Regions from separate parts of the Homo sapiens genome. Here region 1 is linked to region 2. The links are contacts of gene promoters, found by promoter capture Hi-C in human tissues and cell types (Jung and others, 2019). All regions are on one chromosome and are shown on one strand. The core of a region is centred on a gene start or on the middle of the fragment in contact, and the rest is flanking DNA. Distances in the headings are between cores, read along the strand shown. Region 1 overlaps JAKMIP2 (janus kinase and microtubule interacting protein 2). Region 2 holds the start of JAKMIP2 (janus kinase and microtubule interacting protein 2).

Region 1 (5,700 bases), core at 1,185-3,684, 170 kb after region 2:
GTGTGAATCTGACTCCATCATCTATGCATTTATTCAGTCAAACTTTTAAATGTTTTTCCTAGGTGCTAAGTACTGTGCTAGACAGAGAATTCACCGTGGACCCTGCCTTCACAAAACGAAGGACCCATAGATGGTTATAAAATGATCAACACAAAGAAAAATAATTATGATATATCATAATAAATAGCATTTTTAAAAGTACATGCAGGTGCCATGAGGACCTAGTTCTAGCTCTCCCCTTTTCAATCCAACACACATCTCATCACAGATTCTTCTCATTTTTCCTCATGGTACATTCTTGCCTCAAAGCCTCCATGATCCAATTTCCAGTTGAGTAGAGTCTTACGCAGGTCTCTTCAGGTCCTTCAGTAGCTGACTACCCCGCCCTCCAAAACCAGATTTGACCCAACCCCAGAGCATACTTCCCTCTCCACTCATGCAAAACATCCTGGTCCCACTTGTGCTGTGATTTTCCACCTCTAAGCCCTTGTTGCATAATTGCTCATCCTAAAGTGTCCATTAGTTTCCATTGCATTGATCCAAGTGTTCTCATTTTTCCAGTCCCAGTTTAAGATCCAACCCATTCAGGATCCTCTCCCTGATGAAAATTTTAAAAATGAACCACATACTGCTCAAGATATCTACATTCTATATTCTGTTATGCACTCATTCACAACCATTTATTGAGGGCCTGCTGTGTACCAGGTGCTGGGAGTATAATGGTAAGCAAAGACATACAGATCACTACTCTCATCTATCTCACAGAGGGACAGGGGCAGAGCCACAGAACAAATGAACAATGACTGAGGCAATTTCTGAGAGTGGCAATAAGTGCTATGCAGAAACGTATACAATGTGTATGTGAGTTTGGGAGTAGGATTGGCCACTTTAGGTTGGCTGGTCAGAGGAGGCCTCTCTGAAGATACCTACGATCCAAGAAATGAGCCACACAAAGATCTTGGCCAAGTGTCCCAGAAGACAGGGACAGCAAGGGCTAAGTCCCTATCATGGGAATAAGTTTGGAATAGTCAAGGAACAGAGCAAAGGCTAGAATGTCAGGAGCACGCAGAGCCAGAGTGAGGTTGATAGGAGGAGACGTTGCAGAGCTAAGAAAGGGCCACATCACACAGGGCTTTGCAGGAGTTTGAGTTTTATTCTGAGTACAACTCAACTAACTCTTCCTTCTTTTCTTCCCCACCCGCTTAAACTCAGGGGACCATGGAGATCATTTTTACATTCTGAGAGTTCACAATGGCTGCTATTGATGGAGTAAGATGGTCAAAATAAAAGGCAGGAAGAGCAGGTAGAAGCTGCCACACCAGCCCTGACAAGGGAAGACAATGACTTGGTGAACTTGGTATCAGTAGAGATAAAAAGAAGTAGGTAGAAAAGGAATGTTTTAGATCCAGCAAGGTTTTCTGTTGGGTGGATGGCAAAGGGATGGGAAGCAAAAAGAAATCAAGTATACGTCATATGATGTAGCATAACACATTTATTTGACAAAAAAATATGTGTGGACACCTTCTCCATGCTTAACACTGCACTAGGAATTGGAGATGGGTGACAAAGTTATTCAGTTTTTTTCCATTGTTTACCTTTTCTATTTAGTTTTGCTATTCCATCTGGATCTGATAGTTCTTTGAAACTGGGAACTAACTGGTGCCTTATCTGTATTGTCCATTACATTCAGCAGAGTCATGAGCATGTAAGGAGGTGCCCAACAAGCATAGATGTGATGGCTGAATGGATACTGCAGTAATTTTACATATTCATGATTTTGTCCATATAGTACTTGCCTCCATATCCAGCAGACATGCCAAGGAATTACGTGAACACTCAAGGTGGAAATATCTAGCAAATTTATTCTTTTACTGTGTAGCTATGGAGCACTGACAGCACTATGGAAATATACACCAGCACACAAATCATACACGTATAAACACACCATCAACATTCCAGTTCCATCCCTTTCTCCGGCATTCATTATGGTATAATTTCAAGGTTAACCTTTATGGTCTCACTCTGACCAAAACACACCATCTCTTGTTGCACAAACCTTAGCCCCCTTACTTTAAAGAAGAGTTTCTCAATTTCAGCACTACTGAAATTTTGAAGCAGATAATTCTTTATTCTTTTTTAGGGGGAGGGGTGGCTGTTCTGTGCCTTATCGAATGTTTAGTAGCATTCCTGGCTTCTACTCAGTAGATGCTAGATGCACATACTCCCAGTTGTGACAGTACAAAAATGTCAAGACATTTAGATAGTGGTGATGGTTGCACAATTTTATGAATATACTAAAACCACTGAATTACACAACTTAAAATAAATAAACATATTAACTAACTTTAAAAAAATGTGCAGAACTGCCAAATGTCCCTGGCTGGGGCAGGGAGAGACAAACAGTTGAGATCTACTCTTTTAAAGAGAAGGAGATATGCTTTCCAAGTTCAAGTACCCCTTGTTCTAGCTTCCCTTTTTTTCTCCTACCATTGCATTATAAAAACCTCTCTTTCTATATTATCATCCCATTTGGCTTCTAGTGTTTTCTCCATAGACTCCATTTCTCTATTTTCTAATTATTCCCTACAGAGGTATTAAATAAGAAGCCTGCATTATATAACCATGTACATGAACACAAAAAAACCTTCAGATTGCCAGATATAAATGTGAAGACTTTATTTTACTTGTAAATAGTTGTTATGTAATGTTGATTTCAAATATTCGGTGTTTAAATTAGTGGAATTTTGTTACATAATTGAGAGGTAAGTTCAAAGACAGTCTTGGAACTTTTCATCTTTAGGATTACTTGTGTTATGTTTGTTATATTCTGGTGTTTTCCTAATTTACCAGTTCCCTCCTGGGAATGTTTGTTGATGTGTAATCTCTACTTTGTTTTGTGAATTTACCAATTCTATTTTGTGAGAAAATTCTATCCTGAAACAGGGTTGAAATGGGGTTAAGATAAAAAGGTTAAGAAAGAACAATTGGATTGTTTACATCTATATGAGTCAGCCTCAACCATCTTTAATGTGGTAACAAACAATCAAAATCTCAATCCAAATGGTTCATAACAAAGCTTGTTTCTTGCTGTCTACTTCTGAGATATACTACACCCTCTACAAGGATTTGATATTCCCAAATCTTATTCCAACTTGCATTCCACAGGCCAAAACAAGTCTCTTTGCCAAACTCAATGTCAGTGGTGTGGAATCTACACCTCACTAGGAAGGGGTCTACAGGGATAGGCTCAGTAGAAAAGGTGGCAAATATTTTTTGAAAAGTTAATCAGTAGCAATGATTTTCTACCACAAACATAGATAATTTCTGAAACATGCAACATGTTTTTGGGTGGGGAAAACATACATGCGATGTTTCCAGCTGCTTGTACAAATATTCAGGTTTGTATAGGAAGTTTCGTGTTTTCATTTGGTAAATTATTTTTCCGCACAACTTACCACCTACTGATGCTTTCTTTCTTTTCTTTTCTTTCTTCAGAGAATTCGTGACTTAGAAGATAAAACAGACATCCAGAAAAGACAAATAAAAGACTTAGAAGAAAAGGTAGGTGTCAAATTCAATAACTATCTTATTATTTGTTTAATCAGAAAGCAATATTGATTTTGCTCACTGTATTTTCTTCCTGGCTTCTCAGTTATTGTGTGTCTTGCAGAGGCAGGTATAGTTACAGTAAACCTAGCTTTCACCTTCAGTCAAACAGAATGCCAGCAAAGCGTCTGCCATCAGTAACCCAGCCTTCACATATTTGTCTTTTGTGTTGCTTTCCTATTTTTTCTGTGTTTTCTTTCCTTAGTTTCCCCTTCCTTATCTTCATTTCCTTTCCAAAAGTTTCTTCAAGTTTTGTTACCCTACTTTGCTCTTTTTTTAAAAAAATCTTTTAGCACCTTTGTTTTACCTTTCCCATTATCATTCATAAAAAGACCTTTCATCCTTGTGCTGCAGTTTCACCTTAACAGTAAATTCAGAAACTTGGGTTGATATATGATAATCATGTTGTCCTGTCACTTCCCCAGTGATCTCAAAGAGTGGCTGCTTCTTCCAAGTCAGCCAGTGTTTTTGAGGGATATAACAACATGGCTCTTACAGAGGGCACTTGGAAATGCGTGTGGGGTGGGAGAACAGACAGAGCTCAGGCTGGGATGCTGAACAAGCAGCAGCGAGCTACACAGGCTTGCACAACAAAAAAAGCCAAAGCCTGGAATTCCCGAGCAAGATGGCTGAATAGGAACAGCTCCCATCTGCAGCTCCCAGCCAGACCAACACAGAAGGCAGGTGATTTCTGCATTTCTAACTGAGGTACCTGGTTCATCTCATTGGGACTGGTTAGACAATGGGTGCAGCCCACGGAGGGCAAGCCAAAGCAGGGTGGGGTGTTGCCTCACCCAAGAAGCGCAAGGGGTCGGGGAAATCCCTCCCCTAGCCAAGGGAAGCCATGAGGGACTGCACCATGAGGGATGGTGCACTCCGGCCCAGATACTACACTTTTCTCATGGTCTTCACAACCCACAGACCAGAAGATTCCCTCAGGTGCCTACACCACAAGGGCCCTGGGTTTCAAGCACAAAACTAGGAGGCTGTTTGGGCAGACACTGAGCTAGCTGCATGAGTTTTTATTTCATACCCCAGTGGCACCTGGAATGCCATCAAGACACAACCGTTCACTCCCCTGGAAAGGGGCCTGAAGCCAGGGAGCCAAGTGGTCTTGCTCAGCGGATCCCACCCCCATGGATCCCAGCAAGCTAAGACCCACTGGGTTGAAATTCTACCTGCCAGCACAGCAGTCTGAAGTCAACCTGGGGTGCCCGATCTTGGTGGGGGGAGGGGCATTCTCTATTACTGAAGCTTGAGTAGGCTGCTTTCCCCTCACAGTGTAAACAAAGCCATGGGAAAGTTCAGACTAGGTGGAGCCCACCACAGGGCCACAAAGCTGCTGTAGCCAGACTGCCTGTCTAGATTCCTCCTCTCTGGGCAGAGCATCTCTGAAGGAAAGGCAGCAGCCCCATTCAGGGGCTTATGGATAAAACTCCCATCTTCCTGGGACACAGCACCTAGGGGAAGGGGCAGCTGTGGGTGCAGCTTCAGCAGACTTAAACATTCCTGCCTGCTGGCTCTGAAGAGAGCAGTGGATCTCCCAGCATAGCGCTCAAGCTCTGTGAAGGGACAGACTGCCTCCTCAAGTGGGTCCCTGACCCCCGTGCCTCCTGACTGGGAGATACCTCCCAGGAGGGTTCGACAGACACCTCCTACTGGAGAACTCTGGCTGGCATCTGACGTGTGCCCTTCAGGGACGAAGCTTCCATAGGAAGGAGCAGGCAGCAATCTTTGCTATTCTGCAGCCTCTGCTGGTGATAACCGGCAAACAGAGTCTGGAGTGGACCCCCAGCAAACTCCAGCAGACTTGCAGCAGAGGGGCCTGACTGTTAGAAGGAAAACTAACAGAAAGCAATAGCATCAACATCAATGAAAAGGACAACCATGCAAAAACTGTATCCGAAGGTCACCAACAGCAAAGGCCAAAGGTGGATAAATCCATGAAGATGAGGAAAAACCAGCACAAAAAGGCTGAAAATTCCAAAAACCAGAATGCCTCTTCTCCTCCAAAGGATCAAAACTCCTTGCAAACAAGGGAACAAAACTGGATGGATGGAGAATTAGTTTGACGAATTGACAGAAGTAGGCTTC
Region 2 (5,351 bases), core at 1,145-3,644:
ATTTCATTAAAAAATGAATAAATAGCAAATCAAGTAAATCATAAATAATTAAAGCAAATAAGGGAAAACTATTATTAAATAATGATAACAGTGCTGCCTGGACGTGACCAAAAACAAATGAGTAAGTTGTATTTGAATGGTTAAACTGGATACTTCTTCAGATAGGAAACACCAAACTTTTCTCTTACCAATTGACTCTTGACCAGCTGTTTTATGTTGATGGGAGGAGAGGAAAAACTAGAATCACCCACCCCTAGACATTTGGCTCCTAGCGCTAAGGATGAAATGCTGTCCCGAGGACAGTGTGGAGGGTTCTGTCATCTAGTGTGTCATAACTTCTACAGCCTGCAGCTTCCTGGTCTGCTTACTTACAAGAACATCTCTGCAGAGAAAGCAGAAGATAAAATACAGGAATACAAAAAGAAGCGAGATGATCACATCCCATTCCTTTATGTTACACATTACACATAGGTGATGCTGACTTGGAAGTGTGTGCAGGTTGTGTGGCTGCTGAGACTTTGACAGAAGGCAGGGGACACTAGCTGCACAAAGGAGGTTGCAGGCTTTCCCACCAAGTGGATGGAAAGCCAGTGTCACGTGCTGGGGAACTGCTGCAACTCTTTCCTCATCACCTAGTTATCTTCAAGCCAGTTTTATTAGAAGAAGCCCCTGACATTAAGAGTGACACCATGCAGGAAAAAGTCTTCTCATGTTTTAATATTAGTTACTTACAAATGAGTAACAAGTAACTGTAGCTACATTTATTGAACATTTCCTATCTGCTAAAGACCGTACATTTTACACACGTCATCTAGTTTAATTTTTGTAATGACTCATGAGGTTCTGTGATTATTTCTTTTTACAGATGAAGAAACATAGATTTGAGGAAGTTAATAAATATGTTCCAGATTATACCTATAGTAAATACTGGCGCTAGGAATGGAGCCTAGATCGTCTGACTCTGGAACTTGTGTTAAACCCATTTGAACCTGTAAATAACTCTGTGGATTAAGAACAAAGATTATTTCCATTTTATGGAGGAGTGGCAGAAAAGTGTGGTGGTTAGGAGAGCAAATGTAAGTGTTAGAAGAGTCCATTTTGATTCCGGTTCTGTCGTTTATCAGTTGTGAATTTGGGAAATGTATCTAACTCCTCTGAGATTTACAATGTCCTCAAATATCAAGATGTAGAGAACACTTAATCTCTTAGGGCCTCTCTGTCTTTGCCATCATCATCATGGTTATTACGTACTTTGGATTTTCTCATCTTAATTTTTTCTCCTACCTGAAATTGCCATGTTATTCCCCTTAAACCCTTAGATTAAGAGATGGCTGCAATGTACTACTATGCTGCTAATAGTAAATATTTATTGTACACTTACTATATGCCAAGTGCTTTTAGTGCATTATCTCATTCAATCTTTACAACCCCTCCACGAGATAAATACTGGTGTCATCTATAATTTATAGTTAGAAACAGAACTCGCCTAGAACTGGACATTGCTGATTTCACTTCCCCCTTTTCCTGCCCACCACCCTGACTGCCAACTGACTTCGGAACTCCAAAAAGGCATCCATGAAAACGACAGGAATTGCCTGCAGGAAATTGAATGCTCCAGGAGTTTGACACTAAAAAGATTGGGAACTGTCCACCAACTTGTGCTACCGAGAATAGTGGTTGTTGAAAGGAATTTCGGTCTCTATCCAAACTTACTTTTCCTCAGGGATGTGTCAATTACCTCCAAGTCCTGTTCAGAAGGGTAGCTGGAAAAACAGTGAAACCAAGTAACTCACCTGAGAACAAGCCGGGAGTAGTGCAAAGGAATCAACCAGACTCTTAATTTATTACAAAGTCCAGCCACTCCGTTTGCTTTCTAAAAACCTTGTTGCCTGGTATTGAGTAAAAGATGCTATAAAGGACGAACACGTTTGGAAGTAATAATAATCTGCTATTATGCGACATAATTTTCTCCACATTTGTTGTTATTTTTCTGATAATAAATTTCATACTTTTTATTGGAAAACCACAGAAAATGCAAAAAATAGCTAAGCCGTTGGTATGTTTCTATCTAGATTTCAATTAAATTTTAATTATTCTCTCCCCGTGCCTAGCCCCCCTTGCCCCATTTTTAAAAAGACCTGGAGTTCAGGGTAGGAGACATCAAGAGCATCCTAGAGGGCAGCAGCACAAATTCACTCCCCTCCAGACCCTGCAGCTTGCTTCGCCCATCTCCCCTCCCCCTGAGCTTGGTCGCTTATCATTGGTCATTGCCATGGCAACCAGCAGCTGCCGGGCCAGCAGCCTCTACCGCAGCAGGGGTGGGGCACTGGGGGAGGGGGAGAGAGAGAGGAGGAGCCAGAGGAGGTGTCTGCTGCAAGTTCCTGGCTGCTTCCGAGCTCACCCCATCCTCCGAGAGGGAGGAGGCCCAACTGGTGATGCTGCTGCTGCTGCTGCTGCCGCCGCCGCCGCCTCTATTGCTGATACTCTAGTGGGGCTGGAAGGGTGGTTCCTATTCGCACCATCGCCAACCAGAGACAGAGGGAAAAAAAAAACCGGCAGCCACTGCTGATGTTGGGTTCGGAGGCTGCATCCGACTCGGTCACAAGGAAAATGGATTCAGTTTGCATCTCTCCCTCCTTTAAACAGCTTCTCCGGGTCTCAGCATGGTGAGTAGGAAACAGTAGGGCTCCCTTCTTGGTTTAGAGTGTTCTTATTTGACCTGTGTATACATTTCTGGCCTGAACTTGAACAATGACTCCCGTGCCTCAGACTAGAAGGGGGAGATGTGGAGACAGAGATGAGGATGGAGGGAGAGGAAGCTTGCCAGGAAGAGAGAAGTGAGAAGACAACCTCTTGTGTTTAAAAAAAAAAAATGGTGTTCTGATTTTATCTCTAACTGGCTCAGAATGCAGACTGAGCCACTTGGTGCCTTTTTTCCTAAGCTTAGCAACAGCATCAGGGGTTGGAAAAAGAGCTAACAACAAGAAGAGGGTGTTATTGAAAGGAATCATTTCATTTGCAGCTCTCACATACAGGGTTGGGCCTTCTTCAGAAATACATTTGGTGTCTCATAAGCTTACCAGACTCATTATAAGGTGGTTTTGCTTATTTTATTGATTGCTTAGAAAAAGTGGCCCCAGAATTTGACATTTTATTTTATATTCTAATATACTCTTGTTGAGAAATCATTTGCAAGACCCAGTTTTATTTTATACGTAGATTTGACTGTGAACTTACACATGTATATCTTATGGATATACAGATCATATATACACATGTCACTTAGCATTTATATTGCATTTATGAAGCATATTTATATGTAGGGTGTGCTTTGCAACCATTTTTATGGGTTACATATGTCCTTGCATGCCTGGAAGTAATTGCATGTTTTTGAAACTATGCTTCTGGTTTATATTATTATTCATTGGCTTTATTTGGATTAATGTGAAATTTACTCTGGTTATTGTCCCTTAGTTTCATTGTGACCGATTGGAACAGATGCCTATCGTTTGATCTGTGTCATAGAACTAGATGCAAATTTGTAGCCTGCCTCTTTATTTTTAATTGGGTTTGTGGGGGATGATATTGAGGACTCTGAATTTACAATGATGGGAATGGGAGGCGGTTTGTGGTATTATTTTGTGTCTAGCATCTTACCAAATCAATGTTGAAGCAAATCAGTTTTCTTGAAATGCCACCCCAACCTTTTCATGTTTGTGCCTTGTGTCCCAGGAAGCACAGCTAAGCTGGAAGGTGAAATGTATTCATTTTATTTAATAGTGCTGCTATCTGATGTTCATTCCTTCAGTATCCAGGAACCATTTCACAGTTCTCTCAGATGTTGTATTAAGGGTCTCCTTCTGTAAATAATTAAGTAGGAAAGTAGGATTGTTTTGAAAATCTAGGTATTCCCAAGCACCCTAGCCCAGCCGTTTCCAAATTAGTCTGCTTATACAATGAAATGAAACCAGAGAGTGAGCAAAGCGAGCAGGAGAATGTGTGGCTTGTAGCTGAAATGGGGGTCTATTGTAATTTACAAATGCTTACTGGGATCTGCTTGACCTTTTATTATGTCAAGGCTTTAAGGCAGTTCAGGAGACTAAAGATGCGTGAGATGAGGAGGTTCCATTCCCGCCCAGGATAATGGATTTCATTGAATTAAAGCCAGAAAAAATTATGTAGGTAAAGTGTATTAGTAATATTACATTTACCACATGGGCTATTATAGTTTTATCCATTATTCTCTTCTCTAACAATATCATTGTCAGTACAGACATTTTTTACAATGTAAAATAACAATTGTTTGGGTCTTTAGTCTTGCATCTGATTCTACATACACCCCCCACATTTATAATTTTCACATGTATTTGAACCAGGTTTATAGTTTAATTTTGCTGAGAATAATTGTTCTATTTGGTTTATACATGAGAAGGGCCCTTGGTGACTCAATTGTGCATGTGCTCATAGCATGTTATATATTATAGATCCATAGCTTTGTAAACTCATGCTACTTTGTGCCTAATTTTAACAACTATATGAAGTAGGGCAAGGAAAGAGGTACTGGGCTTGTATGTTATAACAAATTGTATAACACATTGCATCCTGAATCTTTTAGTGATAACACTTGACTTCCAAAAATTAAAATGTTAGATATGCCTATAGCACACTTAAAAAATTAAGATTTGTACTAGTTGACCCCATTTCATGCAATGAAAGCAGATATCCTGGGGCTTTGTTTTTGTTTCTTTTTTTTGAGTTTTCATTTGGAGGTGGTTTTATAGGCAAAGTTGGTACAGTTTGAACAGAGGCAAATCCCTTAGGCCATGTGCTTAAAACTCCTTGTAGATAGCCTGTTTCAGCTATGTGTCAGCTATTACCCTGATAGAAATACAGGTCTAGCTTTTGACCCCACTATTTAAGACAATTATATGGCCTTTGCTAAGGGGCCATAGAAAAGTGAAGTGTGTTTCAAGCACTAGAAGTTGAACTCTCTGAGGAAAGATTTTTAAAAGCTAGGATCATTTCATTTAGAGAAGAGAAAAATGAAATATGGCAATCGTTTGTTTCAGATAAGCTAAGCATGGGGCATAAGCACAGGACATTGCTTATTGCTATTTTTTGGAACCTCAAATGTAGTCAATGGGCTTCAACTTTATGAGGAATTATGAAGATGAGAAATATGCAAATGTAGAAGTTCCTCATAGTAAGTGTGAGTAGTCAACTGGCTAATCAGATAAAGCAATGAATTCTTCTCTCATCAAAACCTCCAAAAGTATGACCTAGATATGCATTTGTCTAGGATGTACTAGATTTCCTTCTCAAGAACTTCTCTTGCTTTTTCTAGAGTGAGT

What was found. Contacts are between HindIII fragments. The study calls those that stand out against the background at their distance.
Region 1: a fragment that was not itself captured here is called in contact with the fragment with the promoter of JAKMIP2 in region 2 in 1 of the 25 tissues and cell types used here (hippocampus).

Annotation. Positions count from the first base shown.
Region 1 is chr5:147,610,167-147,615,866 of GRCh38, reverse strand. It overlaps JAKMIP2 (janus kinase and microtubule interacting protein 2), which reads left to right. Exons shown (of 22, transcript NM_001270941.2): 20 at 3,496-3,561. The region is part of intron 3 of JAKMIP2-AS1 (JAKMIP2 antisense RNA 1); the gene reads right to left. Among named protein-coding and RNA genes, the nearest start is that of JAKMIP2-AS1, 53 kb to the right of the region's middle. The HindIII fragment of the contact is 7,560 bases long and covers 1-5,700 here.
Region 2 is chr5:147,779,771-147,785,121 of GRCh38, reverse strand. It overlaps JAKMIP2 (janus kinase and microtubule interacting protein 2), which reads left to right and starts at 2,394. Exons shown (of 22, transcript NM_001270941.2): 1 at 2,394-2,666. The HindIII fragment of the contact is 11,129 bases long and covers 1-5,351 here.